Regions from separate parts of the Homo sapiens genome. Here region 2 is linked to region 1. The links are contacts of gene promoters, found by promoter capture Hi-C in blood cells and fetal thymus (Javierre and others, 2016). All regions are on one chromosome and are shown on one strand. The core of a region is centred on a gene start or on the middle of the fragment in contact, and the rest is flanking DNA. Distances in the headings are between cores, read along the strand shown. Region 1 holds the start of BHMT (betaine--homocysteine S-methyltransferase). Region 2 overlaps SCAMP1 (secretory carrier membrane protein 1).

What was found. Contacts are between HindIII fragments. The CHiCAGO score rates a contact against its expected background, and 5 or more counts as called.
Region 2: a fragment that was not itself captured here is called in contact with the fragment with the promoter of BHMT in region 1 in 1 of 17 cell types (naive B cells); the score reaches 5.2 in naive B cells.

The regions. Positions count from the first base shown.
Region 1 is chr5:79,108,123-79,115,963 of GRCh38, reverse strand. BHMT (betaine--homocysteine S-methyltransferase) reads right to left here and starts at 4,155. Exons shown (of 8, transcript NM_001713.3): 1 at 4,046-4,155; 2 at 65-197. The coding sequence starts at 4,078. It overlaps LOC124901012 (a long non-coding RNA gene), which reads left to right. Exons shown (of 2, transcript XR_007058837.1): 2 at 666-1,157. RefSeq lists an enhancer at 2,985-3,829. The HindIII fragment of the contact is 17,379 bases long and covers 1-7,841 here.
Region 2 is chr5:78,458,085-78,465,925 of GRCh38, reverse strand. It overlaps SCAMP1 (secretory carrier membrane protein 1), which reads right to left. Exons shown (of 9, transcript NM_004866.6): 8 at 6,564-6,681. Among named protein-coding and RNA genes, the nearest start is that of SCAMP1, 100 kb to the right of the region's middle. The HindIII fragment of the contact is 3,969 bases long and covers 2,060-6,028 here.

The DNA of each region.
Region 1 (7,841 bases), core at 2,906-5,405:
TTACAGGCATGAGCCTCCACACCCGGCTCCTTTATGAGAACTTACAATAGAGCTCTGCACCAACCTGCTTCTGGGTGCTCCACAGCAGCTTCAGGAGTCCAGGGTCCTGCCTTTACGTAGCCCCTCTTCTCCAGTGCAAAGACAAACCCTCCATCTCCAATCACAATCTCTCCAGCATTTAAACGTTCTAGGATGCCCTAAAATTACAGATGAGGGAGGAAAAGGAGTTACTTGAGTGTTTAAGATAATTTTCTATTTTTATTACTTTTGCTAACATATTCTTGGAGATGTGTGGTTATTTTAGAATTTTCAGAGAAAAATGTATATTTTATATATACATTTATGGCTATCTATAAGACAAACAACCAGAATGCTCATAAAATAAACATTTGTGTATTCCTTTGTATGTGCTGTGGGTGGGGGGGTCTTTCTTAACACGTTAAAGAGTATTTGAAGAACACCGTGGGAGGTGTGTTTGAAGAACTGTCTGCTGAGGGATTAAATGAAAAGATTTTGTTGTAAAGCCTCAAATCTGCACTTAAGCACAGATTCTTAAAATGGTAAATACTAGTCTTCTTACTCTATCAACAAACTAAAGAGAGGGTTAAAAAATTGTTAAAGAAGTTGAAATGGCATAGAATGCTATTTTTTTTTTTTTTTCTTAGAGACAGCATCTCACTATGTGCCCAGAGGAACTTGAACTCCTGGGCTCAGAAGATCCTCCAGTCTCACCCTCCCCAGCAGCCAAAACTACAGGCTCGTGCCACAGTGCCCAGCAATGCTATTAAGCCATTTTATTTTAAGACTGAAAAGGTGGCCAAATCACTCAAAGACTTCTATCTTTGGTGTTAAAATTCAGTTTCCACAACAGTAGCTATGCTATACAGTCCAGGTTATGAGTGTGCACATGCTGTACTCTATGATGAGAACAAGGAAGAGACAACTAAAGTATTTGTTGAATGATTTTTCAGCCCAATCTCCATACTTATTCCATTTACAATACTGTGCAGTAATCACCCTGGTGTTGTTCTATGGATAACTTTGGAATTAAGTATTTTGAAAGGGTTTTGTGAATTACAAAGTAATTCTCTAGTTTAATAGATTTTTTGTAATTTCAAAGAATCATAGACTTTAAAAATAAATAGTACTCAATTCAATTGAGATCTCTCTCTCATTTCACAAATGAGAAATTAAGACCCAGAGTCCCTGAGTAATTTATACATGGTTTTCCAGATGGGGAGCATAGGGCTTCCTGACTCTTTTATGCTTAAATAACATCTATATTTGATTTCAAATGGGATTGGGGGTGGTGGGACAGCCCTGAAAAAAACTGTATAGTGTAAAGGAATAACTTGGGACGTATTTACCCAGTGTGTTCCACTTACTACCAATAACAGTGGATAAAACAAAAGCTGACATAATAACAAGATTCCAGAAATCTGTGAGAGGCAGTCACAGGATTTTGCATCCCAATTCCTTGCCACCTTCTTAGAACCTCCCTCATTTTCATTCTCTTCCCCTCCACTGCCCCTTCCCATGCCATTTGGACAGCTGGTGCTCAGAGAGAGGAAACAATTGACATTTCACCAGACAGAAGCAAAGTGGTAGGATTATGCTGTGTGTTCCCTAATATACCTTTCAGATCAAAACATTTTCAAGCCATAGTGTTGAAGCCTTGTTATCTTATGGGAGCCCATAAGATAACAAAGCACAACAAAAATATAAATGGCTCACACGTCATTTTGAAATCCAAATATTTGTCATGATTGCAATGTATCTAAATGTCACATCTGAAAACTGCAACTTTGATTATGACCTAATTAACAACAACAATAATATATATATGTATACATATATATAAATATATATATATATATACTACTGCCAGCACAGTTACATAAAAAACATAACAAGGGTCACTTAAATGAGATATGACTTGCTACTAACTTTTATTTGGATAAAATAATTCATGACATTTGGGCAGTTAGCAGCTCCCATTGAACGTGTGTGTTTTCAAATTTTAGTACCACAGCATTTTAATGTGCAGCATAGCTAAGGATCTGATGCTGGGTGGCAGGGTGGGTAGTGGCGATTCAATTACTATGTGGCTCATGCACTTGTTGAGTGGTTACCTCTGGAAATATGATCTCTTACATTCTATTGCATTTTAAAATTATCTAGACTTCAGGATTTTCTGTTCCCAAGCTAAACAGACTTTTTAAAAGGTGGAATGTGCTATGAAAAAAATATACCATTTTGTGAAAAAGTATTACAAAACAGTATATGTAATATCAGCCCATTTTTGTCTAAGAAGTGCATATTTGCCTCAACAACAAACTAGCAGAATATACACCAGAATTTAACAGGCACTGTTCTTTGTGCTTTCCCTCATTGTTTATAATGAACATGTGCAAACTTTGTAACATTTATTTTAATTTTAAACTCAAATGTGTAGACATGTTATTGTCCATATATTGTTTTAACACTGACATATGCACGGAAACAAGTTACTAGGAAACTGTTTTTTCCATCTTACATTCATCTGTTGCTTAGATAATTCTACAAAGATAATTCTTTAAAATGTTAGATTTTCTGAGTTTGAGTTTGGGGAATAAGTTAGACTTACGTGGCTATGAGAATGGGGACAAACAAAAAATATCTATATCTATAGGAATCATCCTTCCCAGTCTCTGTGGACTATTCATTTAGTACATTTAGGGACTGGCGAAATTCTCACCCTCCTTTGACTGGTGATAGTCCATAGTCCTTTGCCATCTCAACACCCACTCATGCCATCAACATGCATCCACGATGCTGCATTTAGAATCTGTAACCGAATTGACCTTCTTCCTTGTGTAGAGGTCTTTTTGATTTGGGAGGCCATCCCTTTAGAAACTGGGCACACCTCAGCTGGTTCTCCAGCAGGGCAGGCACTGGGATGAGAGCTGGACCTTTCTCACTGTCCTTACAGCCCAGAGGATACAGTTGGCCTGGCCCCATCTGCCTCCCTACCATTTTCCGGGGGCCTCTGTCGTGCCAGGCCTGGGACTGGGCATTTGACCAAAAGGTCAAGTTTATTCTCTCCTCCCTCCATCCTTCTCTCTCTCTTCCCACCTGTCCAGTCTCATTCCACGGCAGTCAGTCCATCTATCCATCCGTTCCCCAAATTAGAGGAAGGCCTACCGTCTGGACTGAAAATACCCCTCCCAACAAGCCACTGGGATAGCCAAGAGATGGACTTGTTCATCTGGAGCTGGAATTGGGTTTTACAATTTCATCAACAGCCCTTCCTCAGTATCTTACAGCCACTCTGCCCATTTTTTCTTAAACCATGTTTTCGAGGCTGACATTTCGGATGACATTTTTCTGTCATCACGGACATCAAATTGCCTGTGAAAATCTGCAATCACCCAACCAGCGCCTGGGCCTTGGGTGCAGCGAGAACCCGGCGGGGAGGCGGCCCCGACACCCGCGGTGCAGATCCAGGCGGGAAATGTCGGAGCCAGCGCCGTGCACTCCTCCCTGTTCTGGGCGCGCCGGGTGCAGAGGGCGCTCGCGGCGGCCTCGGACACAGATGCGGAGGGGCTCCGTGGGGACGGGATATCGCGCCTGCGGGGCTAGGAGCAGTATCTCTAGGGAGTTTTCTGGTCTTGGGGTGCCAGATTCAGAAGATATTGGAAGGCTCGGAGTTCTGGGGACACCCAGCCGTCAGGGAGGGCTCAGAGGGTGCCTTTGGGTCTGAGAGGCAAGGATCACATAGATCTGGGGCGCACTCTGGTCCAAGCTGGGCTGGGGCTGGAGGGGACAGAGGCGCTCTGGGGGCGCGCTCTGAACGTGGGGCAGGAGTGGGGAGGCTCAGAGGCGCCTTGGGGTCCTGCTGGAGAAGTTCTGGAAGCACATTCTGGTCTGAGGCTGAGGGAGGGGAGGGAGTAGGAGGATGATGGGTACCAGGCAGGGTCCGAGGGCCCCTCTGCGCTCCCAGAGGCTGGGATACAGAGCAGGTGGGAGGGGAAGGAGAGCGCCCTCGGGTCCCCTGGAGACTCACCTTCTTGGCCTTTTTGCCCCCAACGGGTGGCATCTTCGTGGTGTCCAGACAGGTGGTCGACACGGATGCGGACCGACTAGGCGAGCCTTCCCGCTGCGCAGCCCCGAGCTGCTCCGAGTCCGCAGCCTGCCTCTTTATACCCGCAGTTGGGCGTGGGGAGGGCCTCCCAGCCACCGCGCGGGCCAACACGGACCTTGGGCGGGAACACGCCCACCAGCCCTTCATCAGGCCCGCCTCCTGTTGGGAACCTGGCCTGCCAAGGAGGTAATCCAGATTGTTCACCCAAATGGGTGGAACCACCGAAAAGTAAGATAAGAAAAAGCGAGGTTGCCACTCGCTCAGATTTCAAACCTGCCTAGCGTCCCTTTTGCCTCTTGCACTTTTGCCCCGACCCTGACCGTCCTCTCGCTCACCTGGGATCATGCACCATGGCCCACTTAGGCTGCCAGAGAGGCCTCTGAGAAGTCCATTCGATGCTCAGATATTTGTCAAAGGCCAAGGCGTCAAGATTATGGAATCAGGGGATGAAGTCCTGGAAGATCTTCAGCCTGGAGTGTGATCTCCTGTGTGATATACATCCAGTATAACGGGACACAAATGCGGCTTTAGTAGAGGAGTCCAATACTAACCCTGAATTGGCGGGTATGTTCAAAATGACCTTCTACCCCTATACCCAAACATGCCTTGCAGTTTCTAATAACACAGTAGTTTCTAATAAGAATATGTTTGTAATATTTAACAAGGACAGACTTTTAACATTTATAAATGGAAGCAGAAATGTACTTTGAAGACTTCAAAATTCAGCATGAAAACGATATAAAAACATAGACATTAGAAGAACTGGAGGGAATAGAGATGTTAACAGTAGTTACCTATTGATGGCGGAATTAAGGCTTGTTTTATTTTATTCTTCATGTTTCACTGTATTTTCCAAAATATTTTTATAATGAGAATACATTGATTTTAAAATAATAAAAACATTACTTTAAAAAATGTACAGCATGGCCTGCACGGTGGCTCATGCCAGTAATCCTAGCACTTTGGGAGGGTGAGGCGGGTGGATCACCTGAAGTCAGGAGTTCGAGACCAGCCTGGCCAACATGGTGAAACCCCCGTCTCTGCTAAAAATACAAAAATTAGCCGGGCATGGTGGCAGGCGCCTGTAATCCCAGCTACTCGGGAGGCTGAGGCAGGAGAATCGCTTGAACCCTGGGGGCAGAGGTTGCAGTGAGCCGAGATTGTGCCATTGCACTCCAGCCTGGGCAAAAAGAGTGAAACTCTGTCTCAAAAGAAAAAAAAATGTACAGCATGACAGTAAATAGCCTACAGAACAATGAAATATCTGAAACACAGTTCAGAAAATTTTACCCAAATAAAAGCATGTAAAAAAATTCTGTATGTGGACAAACAACCTCCATTTCAACACATGCAGAGAAGAAAGTTACTGCAACACCTGATGAATTAATACAAATTTAACGGCTAAAGTGACATGTGTTTGAAATACAACTGAGAAAGTAAAAATGTCCTTTTGCTTCTAAGTATGTCAAGTTTAAAATGGAAAAAGAAATGAAAAGGTGAAAGGATATACTGTTATTCAAGTGATCTATTATTTCATTGGCTCCTCCACCCCCAACTGTGATCTGGGGTCAGCAAGAATGAGGCATGAGGTAAAGTCATTCTTCACAGTACCTAGATTAAAAAAAAAAAACACCTTGAAGGCATTGGAGTATCCGAATAGGTAACAGTTTAGTTAGTTAATGCGTTAACTAGTTAAGGTATTCACCTGGTGAGCACTGGTGAGATGAACAGGTCTAGAGTGAGCCCCGCGGTGGCTGCAGGGAGCAGCCGCAGTCGTGGGTATCTGGCACTAGGAGGCGGTATAAGCACTCTAACACTCAATAAAGGCTGAAAGCCGACGTTCCCAATTTCAGTTTCCTCAAAATGTGGCAAAACTTGGGAGAAATTTTAAACTAGTAGCATTAAATTTAGAAGTGAATTATGAATTTTTAATAGGTAATATAGACACATGGCAAAAATTTTACTTTTTTAATCTTTATTTCTCCAAGAACAAACATGGCAAAAAAAATTTAGAAGCCTTTCCCCAGCTGCTGTTGCAGATCAAGTCCCCTCCCTGGAGGTAACCACTATTGCCTGTTAACCGTTCTTCCAGAGGAATTTTATGCATACCTAAGTGTATAGATGTATATAAAAGGATTTGTACTCGAACGTAGGGAATTTTCGTTTTTTAAAAAAATTATCGACTCCCAGCTTTTCCAGAATGATTTATAGGTGCTGTCAAAATATTTTTGTTTTTTCTGGGCCTCTCAATTTGTTGTCCTAACTATCCCATGCCCCCACCCCCAATTAGGTCCATTTAAAAAATTATTCACTTATTTCCATAATAGATGATAATATCCACCATGTATGTAAAAGGCACTAAGCCTTTTACTTACACAACATTATTTACCCCACACAACTCTGTGAGGTGGGTGTCCCCTCTTTGTTCTCAAGAACCACGAAGTTAGGGAGTTAGATGGATCATCAGCATGCTCCCTGAAGTTTCTTTGCCCCATTCCCAGAGAACTAAGTCTGCTTGGATACCACTTAGGAAGTGAGGTTTTTTGCTTGTTTGTTTGTTTTTTTGAGATAGAGTCTCACTCTGTCGCCCAGGCTGGAGTGCAGTGGTGCAATCTCAGCTCACTGCAACCTCTGCCTTCTGGGTTCAAGTGATTCTCCTGCCTCAGCATCCCGAGTAGCTGGGATTACAGGCTGGCGCCACCACACCCGGCTAACTTGTATTTTTTGGTAGAGACGGGGTTTCACCATGTTGGAGAGGCTGGTCTTGAACTCCTGACCCCAGGTGATCCATCCGCCTCGGCCTTCCAAAGTGCTGGGATTACAGGCGTGAGCCACTGCACCTGGCAGGAAGTGAGTTCTGCAATAAACTGTCCTTGGGAGGCTGCCTATGTTCTCTGATCTCTACTGGAGTCAACCAGATGAGGGAGGTCATAAGACTGAAGTCCATGGCTGTGTACAAAGATGTTGGGGGTTAAAAATAAATCCCAAAGAAGAAGAGGAGACTTAGAGCTGGCGATCCACCCCCTTCATTTTACAACCTCAAAAGATACTCGGTTATTGTTCTGTCTCTGACCAGTGCTTTGTTCTATTTGAAATCCTATTTATTCACTCAATAAACATTTAGGTACCATTAATACAATGTTTTAAACCCTATGCTTGGTGCTGGAAGTAAAGGATATCATCTCCTTTTTTTTTTTTTTCAAGGAAGAGATAGAAACCATCTCATATAAGTGCTAAAATGTTCCTTTTACCAATATGTAGATGGAAAAATGTCAGGACTTTTCATTTCCCACTCAACTGGGATCTCTTTTAAAATGAAACTGACTTTTCACAGGCCTTTTTAGACTAAATATGTTTCATTTAGCCTTAAACCATTGAAGATACTTTAACACTGTGTTTAATGATGTTTTATATTTTAGTATGATGTTTAATGATGTTTTAACACTGTGTTTAATGGTGGTTTTACATGTTAACACTGTACAGAACAGTGTTTGCAAACTGCTGATGTGGAAATGGAGCCAGCTTCTGCGTTTCCTTTGGCAAGGCCAGTGTTTTTAAAAAATTGAATGTGAATTCCTTTATGTGGCGCTTCCACCCTTCCCATTTGCTGGTCTGTACCACACCCAGCTGCCCTGCACTCTTCTGGTTCACATATTTACCTTACCTTAAAGGCATTTGGGCTTTCAACTTCTGCTATAAATAGAAGGTATATTTGGGG
Region 2 (7,841 bases), core at 2,795-5,294, 650 kb after region 1:
TGTTCTAGATTATCTGGGTATGCCCCATCCAATCTGTTGAAAGGCCTTAAGAACACAACTGGAGTTCCTCTGAGGAAGAAGAAATCCCACTTGTGGACCAGAGTTTCAACTTCTGCCTGAGAGTTCCGGCCTGCCCTCTTGATATCAGACTGACCTCACCAGCCAATTCCCCGCAATTAACCTTTTCATTCTTTCTGTTTCTGATAGCATGCTGACTGATAAAGGCATCTACTAAACAAAAGTAGACACTAAACCAGACCCTGAATATAAAATGATAAAAAGGTCAAGATCAGAAAGGAAAACTATTAACTGAGAAGGCCCTATTCTATGCAGTTTACATTCACTGTTTCATTTAATCCTCACACCAACCCTATGAAAGTGGTTACTCTTCCCATTCCTTCTTTTATTCAACAAATATCTGAGTGCCTATCACATGCCAATCACTGCATGTCACTGTTCCAGATGTGAGAATTACAACCTGAAAGCATACAGAACAGGTCTCCACTCTCACGCAGCTTGGAGTACAGTTGAGGACACCAAACCTGAGTGGTTACAGAAGTCTGTCTCAGGTCACAGAGCTGTAAGTGAAGCTGTCAAAATTTCAACCTGAGTTGTATGGTTCCAAAGCAAAACTCTTGCTCTTCTCATCTAATTCCAATGCTAAAAGACTTGTTCACGCGGGGGGTGCTTAACAGCTGCGTACCCAGAATACATGCACCATAAGGCATAAAAACTGGCTTATGCCCAGGTGCCACAGTAAGCAATATAGACAGTTAAGTTTCCCCAAGAAAACAGAGAATGACATGGTCCCTAAGATACAAGGCAACAAAAAACATTCTGGGAGACACAGCAAGATCGGAGCTGGGTCTTGAAAGAATACTAGTAGGTCTTCAAATAGCAGAGAAGACGAATTAATGCACGGATTAAAAAACATCATATAAACAAAATCTGGAACAAAGGAATGTACATGATGTATTTGAAGAAACCGAGCAGTACAGTCTGACAAGAATAGAAAGTGTGAATCATGGAGCTGTGAGACGTCACCATTAGCCCTTCTTCCCACCACCACTATAATCCCAATCTGTGATTCTCCGAGAGGACAAAATGGCATAATACTGGTGAAGTGTTCTGCATAGGGCCCAGAGTATGGCTGAGCAAAATAAAAGTGATTTCATCATTAGGTTATTAAGGCCCATTTGATGGCTTTATGGCATGTAGTGTGTTTTTACAACCTTAGCAATGCTGGTGTTTCTGAATGTAGCCCTTCTTCGCACTGCCACCAAAATGCCGTTCCCAATCCCAGATCCACGTCAAAAATCTGCAGAGTGCCAATTTGTTGGGGTTTTTTTAAGGTTAATATAGGAATTATATATTAAATGGACTGCGAGAAGGATGAGGGAATATAAGTAACCTGTAAAAAGAATTTCTGGATTAGCTGAGGTTGGAAATGGAAAAGATACTAAAAAGGTATCTAAGAAAGTGAATTAAAAAGTAATGGAAGTGGCTGTGCGTGGTGGCTCATGCCTGTAATCCCAGTAGGCAGAACACGAGGTCAGGAGATCAAGAGCATCCTGGCCAACATGGTGAAACCCTGTCTCTACTAAAAATACAAAAATTAGCCAGGCATGGTGGCACATGCCTGTAATCCCAGCTACTCAGGAGGCTGAGGCAGGAGAACTGCTTGAACCAGGGAGTTGGAGGCTGCAGTGAGCAGAGATCACGCCATCACACTCCAGCCTGGTGACAGAGCAAGACTCTATCTCAAAAAAAGAAAAAAAAAAATAGCTGAGTGTGGTGGCGCATGCCTGTAGTCCCAGCTACTTGGGAGGCTGAGTCAGGAGAATCGCTTGAACCCGGGAGGCGGAGGCTGCAGTGAGCCAAGATCGCGCCACTGCACTCCAGCCTGGCGACAGACAGATTCTGTCTCAAAAAAGAAGTAATGGAAGCACTGACAGAAGCAATCACAGCACTGACAAAAATGTTCAATGGAATTACATAAAGTGCTTAGTGCCATCTCATTAGTAGGTATTCAATAAGTGTTTCTTCAAAAAAAAAAGCTTCATTAAGATAAAATCTGTATACTATGCATTTTACCCTTTAAAGTGTACAATTCAATGATTTTTAGTATATTCATAGAGTTGTGACTATAATATCTACACAACCTAATTTTAGAATACTTTCATTACCCTCACTCCCCACCCCACCCATAAGCCACAGGCAAGCTGTAATACATTTTCTGTCTCTATATATTTGCCCATTTTATACATTTCACAATAATGGAATCTATACAATATGTGGTCTTAATAAATGCTTCTTGAATATTACTCAGAACGTTCAAAAGGAACATCTATCACTAAGAAACTGAAGAGTTTATGAGGCATTACTGTGAGAAGATGACATCAATCAACAACTGGAGATGAAAATGACCAATTGAAGATGCAACTAAAGGTTTATGCAATGCATTATCTTTTCCAATTCCAAGATTCTAGGTCATCTAGGTAGAGAAGAAACTGAAATAATAAGGGAAGATGAAATTCCCAAAGAAAATGACTGCATAGCACAAAGAGCCGATTACATTTAAGACCTTAATTTATGAACTGGATGAAGAAATGGAGGAGAAAGAATAGCCAGAGAGTCAAGAGAATTAGAACATCATTGCAAAGTCTTAGCAGAGGAGCCATCTGTGGTGTAGAAAGCTACAGAGGTTAAGGAGGAGGAAAACTGGAAAAGGGATTTAGTAACATTAGAGAGCTGAGTGTCAATGGTATGTGTGTTTGGTGCAGAAGAGAAGTTAAAAATTTCAAATAGAGAAAATATGGAAGAACGGACACAGTCTAACCTTCGTAGGGTTTTGAGAAGGATAAAAGACAAATGTCTGAGTAAAGTACTGAAAGAGTAAAAGTGGTTTTAAATATAAGGTAAAATTATTTCTATGCATTCCTCATACATAGTCTCAAGTAATGAAATGGTAAAAAAAATTATAAGGACTTATTTTCTTTAAAGTGAGACCTATCAAAAAGTCTTTTTCATTTAAAACATAGGTGTTATTCCCAAGGTCTCAATATCATGTTTGAATACATATAAAATATATCAAAATTACATATATCCAAGACAAAATAAAACTTTAAATAAACAAATAAAAACACTAATTTACCTTCCTCTATGTAATGATTTTTTTTTTAAAGCTGTGAAAACAGACATGGGAATTCTACAGGAAGAAGTGTAGCTAAAACAACTGGGCAGTTACAAATCCTAAATGACTCCTAAACCTGATAACTAACTTGAGTAAAGTTTCAAGATACAGACTGGGTGTGGTGGCTCACACCTGTAATCCCGAACTTTGGGAGGCCAAGGCAAGTAGATCACTTGAGGTCAGGAGTTACAGACCAGACTGGCCAACATGGCGAAATCATCTCTACTAAAAATACAAAAAAAATTAGCCAGGTGCCACATCTGTAATCCCGACTACTCAGGAGGCTAAAACATGAGAATTGCTTGAACCCAGGAGGTAGAGGCTGCCGTGAGCCAAGATCACACCACTGCACTCCAGCCTGGGCAACAGAGTGAGATTCTGTCTCAAAAAACCAACAAAAAGTTTCAAGATACAAAATCAACATACAAAAATCAGTAGCATTTCTAAACACCAACAACGTTCAAGCTGAGAACCAAATAAAGAACCCAATCCCATTTACAATAGACACACACACACACACACACACACACACACACTCCTACACACATCCAGAATACATTTAACTAAGAAGGTGAAAGAACTCCATAAGAAGAATTGCAAATCACTGATGAAAGAAATCACACATGACACAAAGAAATGGAAAAACATCCACATTCATGGATTAGAAGAATCAATATTGTTACAATGACCATACTGTCCAAAGCAATATATAGATTCAATACAATCCTATCAAATTACCAACATCATTTTTCACAGAAGTAGAAAATACAATTCTAAAATTCATATGGAACCAAAAAGAGTCTGAATAGCTAAAGCAATCCTAAGCAAAAAGAACAAAGCCAGAGGCATCATATTGCCTGACTTCAAACTATAGTGCACAGTGGCTCACACCTGTAATCCCAGCACTTTGGGAGGCTGAGGCGGGCGGATCACTTGAGGCCAGGAGTTAGAGACCAACCTGGCCAACATGGTGAAATCCCGTCTCTGCTAAAAATACAAAAATCAGCCAGGCATGGTGGTTCACGCTTGTTAGTCCCAACTACTTGGCTGTCTGAGGCATGAGAATCACTTGAACCTGGGGAGGCTGAGGGTGCAGTGAGCCGAGATTGTGCCACTGCACTCCAGCCTGGGCGTCAGAGCAAGATTCTGTCTCAAAAAAGAAAAAAGACTATGGTAAGCAAGCAGCATGGTAACCAGTACAAAAACAGACCAATCGAACAGAGAACCCAGAAATAATGCCACACACCTACAACCAACTGATCTTTAACAAAGCTGACAATAATGAACAATGGGGAAAGGACACCCTATTCAATAAATGGTGCTGGGTAAACTGGCTAGCCACATGCAGAAGAATAAAATTGACCCCTACTTCTCACCACATACAAAAATTAACTCAAGATGGATTGAAGACTTAAATGTAAAACCTCAAACTACAAAAATCCTAGAAGAAAATCTAGGAAATACTCTTCTAGACATTGGCCTAGACAAAGAATTTACTACTAAGACCTCAATAGCAAATGGAACACAAACAAAAATTGACAAATGGGACTTAAAGAGCTTCTGCATAGCAAAAGAAACACTAAACAGGCTGGGCGTGGTGGCTCATGCCTGTAATCCCAGTACTTTGTGAGGGCTGATCATTTGAGGTCTGGAGTTCAAGGCCAGGCTGGCCAACATGGTCAAACTCCATCTCTACTAAACATATAAAAATTAGCCAGGCATGCTGGTGCACACCTGTAATCCTAGCTACTCAAGAGGCTGAGACAGGAAAATTGTGTGAACACGGGAGGTGGAGATTGCAATGAGCTGAGATTGAGCCACTGCACTCCAGCCTGGGTGACAGAGTGAGACTCTCTTTCACAAAAGAGACAGGAAGACAGAAAGAGAGACAGATAGAGGAAAGACAAGAAAGGAAGGAAGGAAGGGAGGAAGGAAGGAAGGAAGGAAGGAAGGAAGGAAGGAAGGAAGGAAGGAAGGAAGGAAGGAAGGAGAAAAGAAACCAAAAGAAAGAAAGAGAGAATAAACAGAGTAAAGAGACAATCTACAGGATGGGAGAAAATATGTGCAAACTATGCATCTGACAAAGGACTAATATCCAGAATGTATAAAGGACTTAAACAAATCAACAAGAAAAAAAAAACCCCATTAAAAAGTAGGCAAAGGATATCAACAGACACTTCTTGAATGAAGACATACAAGCAGCCAACAAATGGAAGAAAACTCAACATCACCAATCAGAGAAATGCAAATCAAAACCACAATAATTCCCATCTCACACCAGTCAAAATGGCTATTATTAAAAACTCAAAAAACAACAGATGTTGGCAAGGATGCAGAGAAAATGGAATGCTTATATACCGTTGACGGGAATATAAATTTGTTCTACTTCTGTGGAAAACAGTATGGAGATTTCTCAAAGAAGTAAAAATAGACCTTCCATTCAACCCAGCAATCACCCTATACTGGGTATCTAACCAAAGGAAAAGAAATCATTTTATCAAAAAGACACCTGCACTCATATGCTTATTGCAGCACTAGTCACAATAGCAAAGTCACAGAATCAACCTAAGCGTCCATCAATAGTAGACTGAATAAAGAAAATGTGATACATATACATCACGAAATACTACACCACCTAAAAAATGAAATTATGTCCTTCGTAGCAACATAGATGCAGCTGCACGCCATTATCCTAAGTGAATTAACACACTAACAGAAAATCAAATACTGCATGTTCTCACTTAGAAGTGGGAGCTAAACAAAGGGTTCACACAGACATAAAGATGGAAACAGACACCGGGGACCCAAAAGGGAGGGAGGGAGAAGAGCAAAGCTTGAAAAACTATCGGGTACTATGTTCACTATTTGGGTGATGGGTTCAATAGAAGCCCAAACCCCAGCATTATGCAACATAACCATGTAACAAACCTGCACATGTTCCCTCTGAATTTATAATAAAAAATTAAAAAACAAAACAAAAACCTAAGAGATATATATGAATAAAATGTACATATCACATAATAATTTTACTTCTATTTATTAACAGGCTAATATCCTTCATATCAAAAAAAAGAAATTTAGAGTATATTTAAAAATCCAAATTTTAAAAATGAGGCTGACTCTTTAACTCATGAAAGCCTTCAGTTAAAATGATTTTAAAATATTCCCTTTTTACTGAAGTTTAAAATGTGATGCAATTTTCTAAAATGTACTTATGCATAACTTTTAATTGTAAAAAGTAATCCTCAGAGAGCAAACTCATACAATAACGATAAAATGGCTTCAGGTTACACCAAATTATAGCAAAATAGGAAAATGAGAACTTTACATCACGTTCACTATAAAAATTTAGACATAAAATTTCACTTACTTTTTTGAACATAACTAGTGAGATGACTGCTGATGCTGTGAAAAGTGCTGCTATGATTATCATCATGATTCCAACAGGAATATTTTGGTTGAGACCAGTAAGGGATGAAATCCAACCACTAAAAAGTAATAAAAAGTGTAATTAGGCAAAAGTTGATGTAAACTTTTTAAAAATAGCATAATATCTAACACATATTCAACACTTATCAGCCAGGCAATATTCAAGTTCTTTATGTGTATTAGTGCATTTAATTCTCACAACCCACCCAATAGGATAGATGCTGTTTTAAATCCCCATTTGACAAATGAGGAACTGAGACATTCAGTAATCTGCCCGAGGTCACACAGCTTATAAATGGCATAGTCTAAATTCAAAAGCAAACCAAACTCCAGAGTCTCAAGTGTTTAATTCCAGACTGTACATTTTTTAAGCTGTACATTTTTTAAGCTTATGAGTTTTGAATTTATTATTACTCTTTTTTTTGAGACAGAAGCTCGCTCTGTTGCCCAGGCTGCAGTATAGTGGCATGATCTCGGCTCATTGTAATCTCCGCCTCCTGGGTTCAAGCGATTCTCCTACCTCAGCCTCCTGAGTAGCTGGGATTACAGGTGCGTGCCACCACGCCTGGCTACTTTTTGTATCTTTAGTAGAGACGGGGTTTCACCATGTTGGTCAGACTGGTCTCGAACTCCTGACCTCGTGATCCACCTGACTCGGCCTCCCAAACTGGGATTATAGCGTGAGCCACTGCACCTGGCCTATTATTACATTTTTTTAAATGTTTATTTTCAATTCTGCTGAATTATGAAAGAAGATATTTATAAACCATATATCCAACAAAGGATTCACATCTAGAATATACATAACTTTCAAAGCTCAACAGAATACAAAAATTAAGAAAATGGATAAAAGACATGCAGAGACATTTTACTAAGAGGACATAAAGACGACAAATAAGCACATGAAAAGATGTTCAAAACCACAATGAGATATCACTACACACCTATTAGGATGGCTAAAATAAAAAGTAATAACCACTAAATGCTGGTGAGGAAGTGGAGACTAAATTGCTCATAATTGTTGGTGGGAGTGTAAAATAGCACAAGCATTCTAGAGAACAGTTTGTCTGTTTCTTTAGAAAACTAAACATGCGGAGAGGAGCCAAGATGGCCGAATAGGAACAGCTCCGGTCTACAGCTCCCAGCGAGAGCGACGCAGAAGACGGGTGATTTCTGCATTTCCATCTGAGGTACCAGGTTCATCTCACTAGGGAGTGCC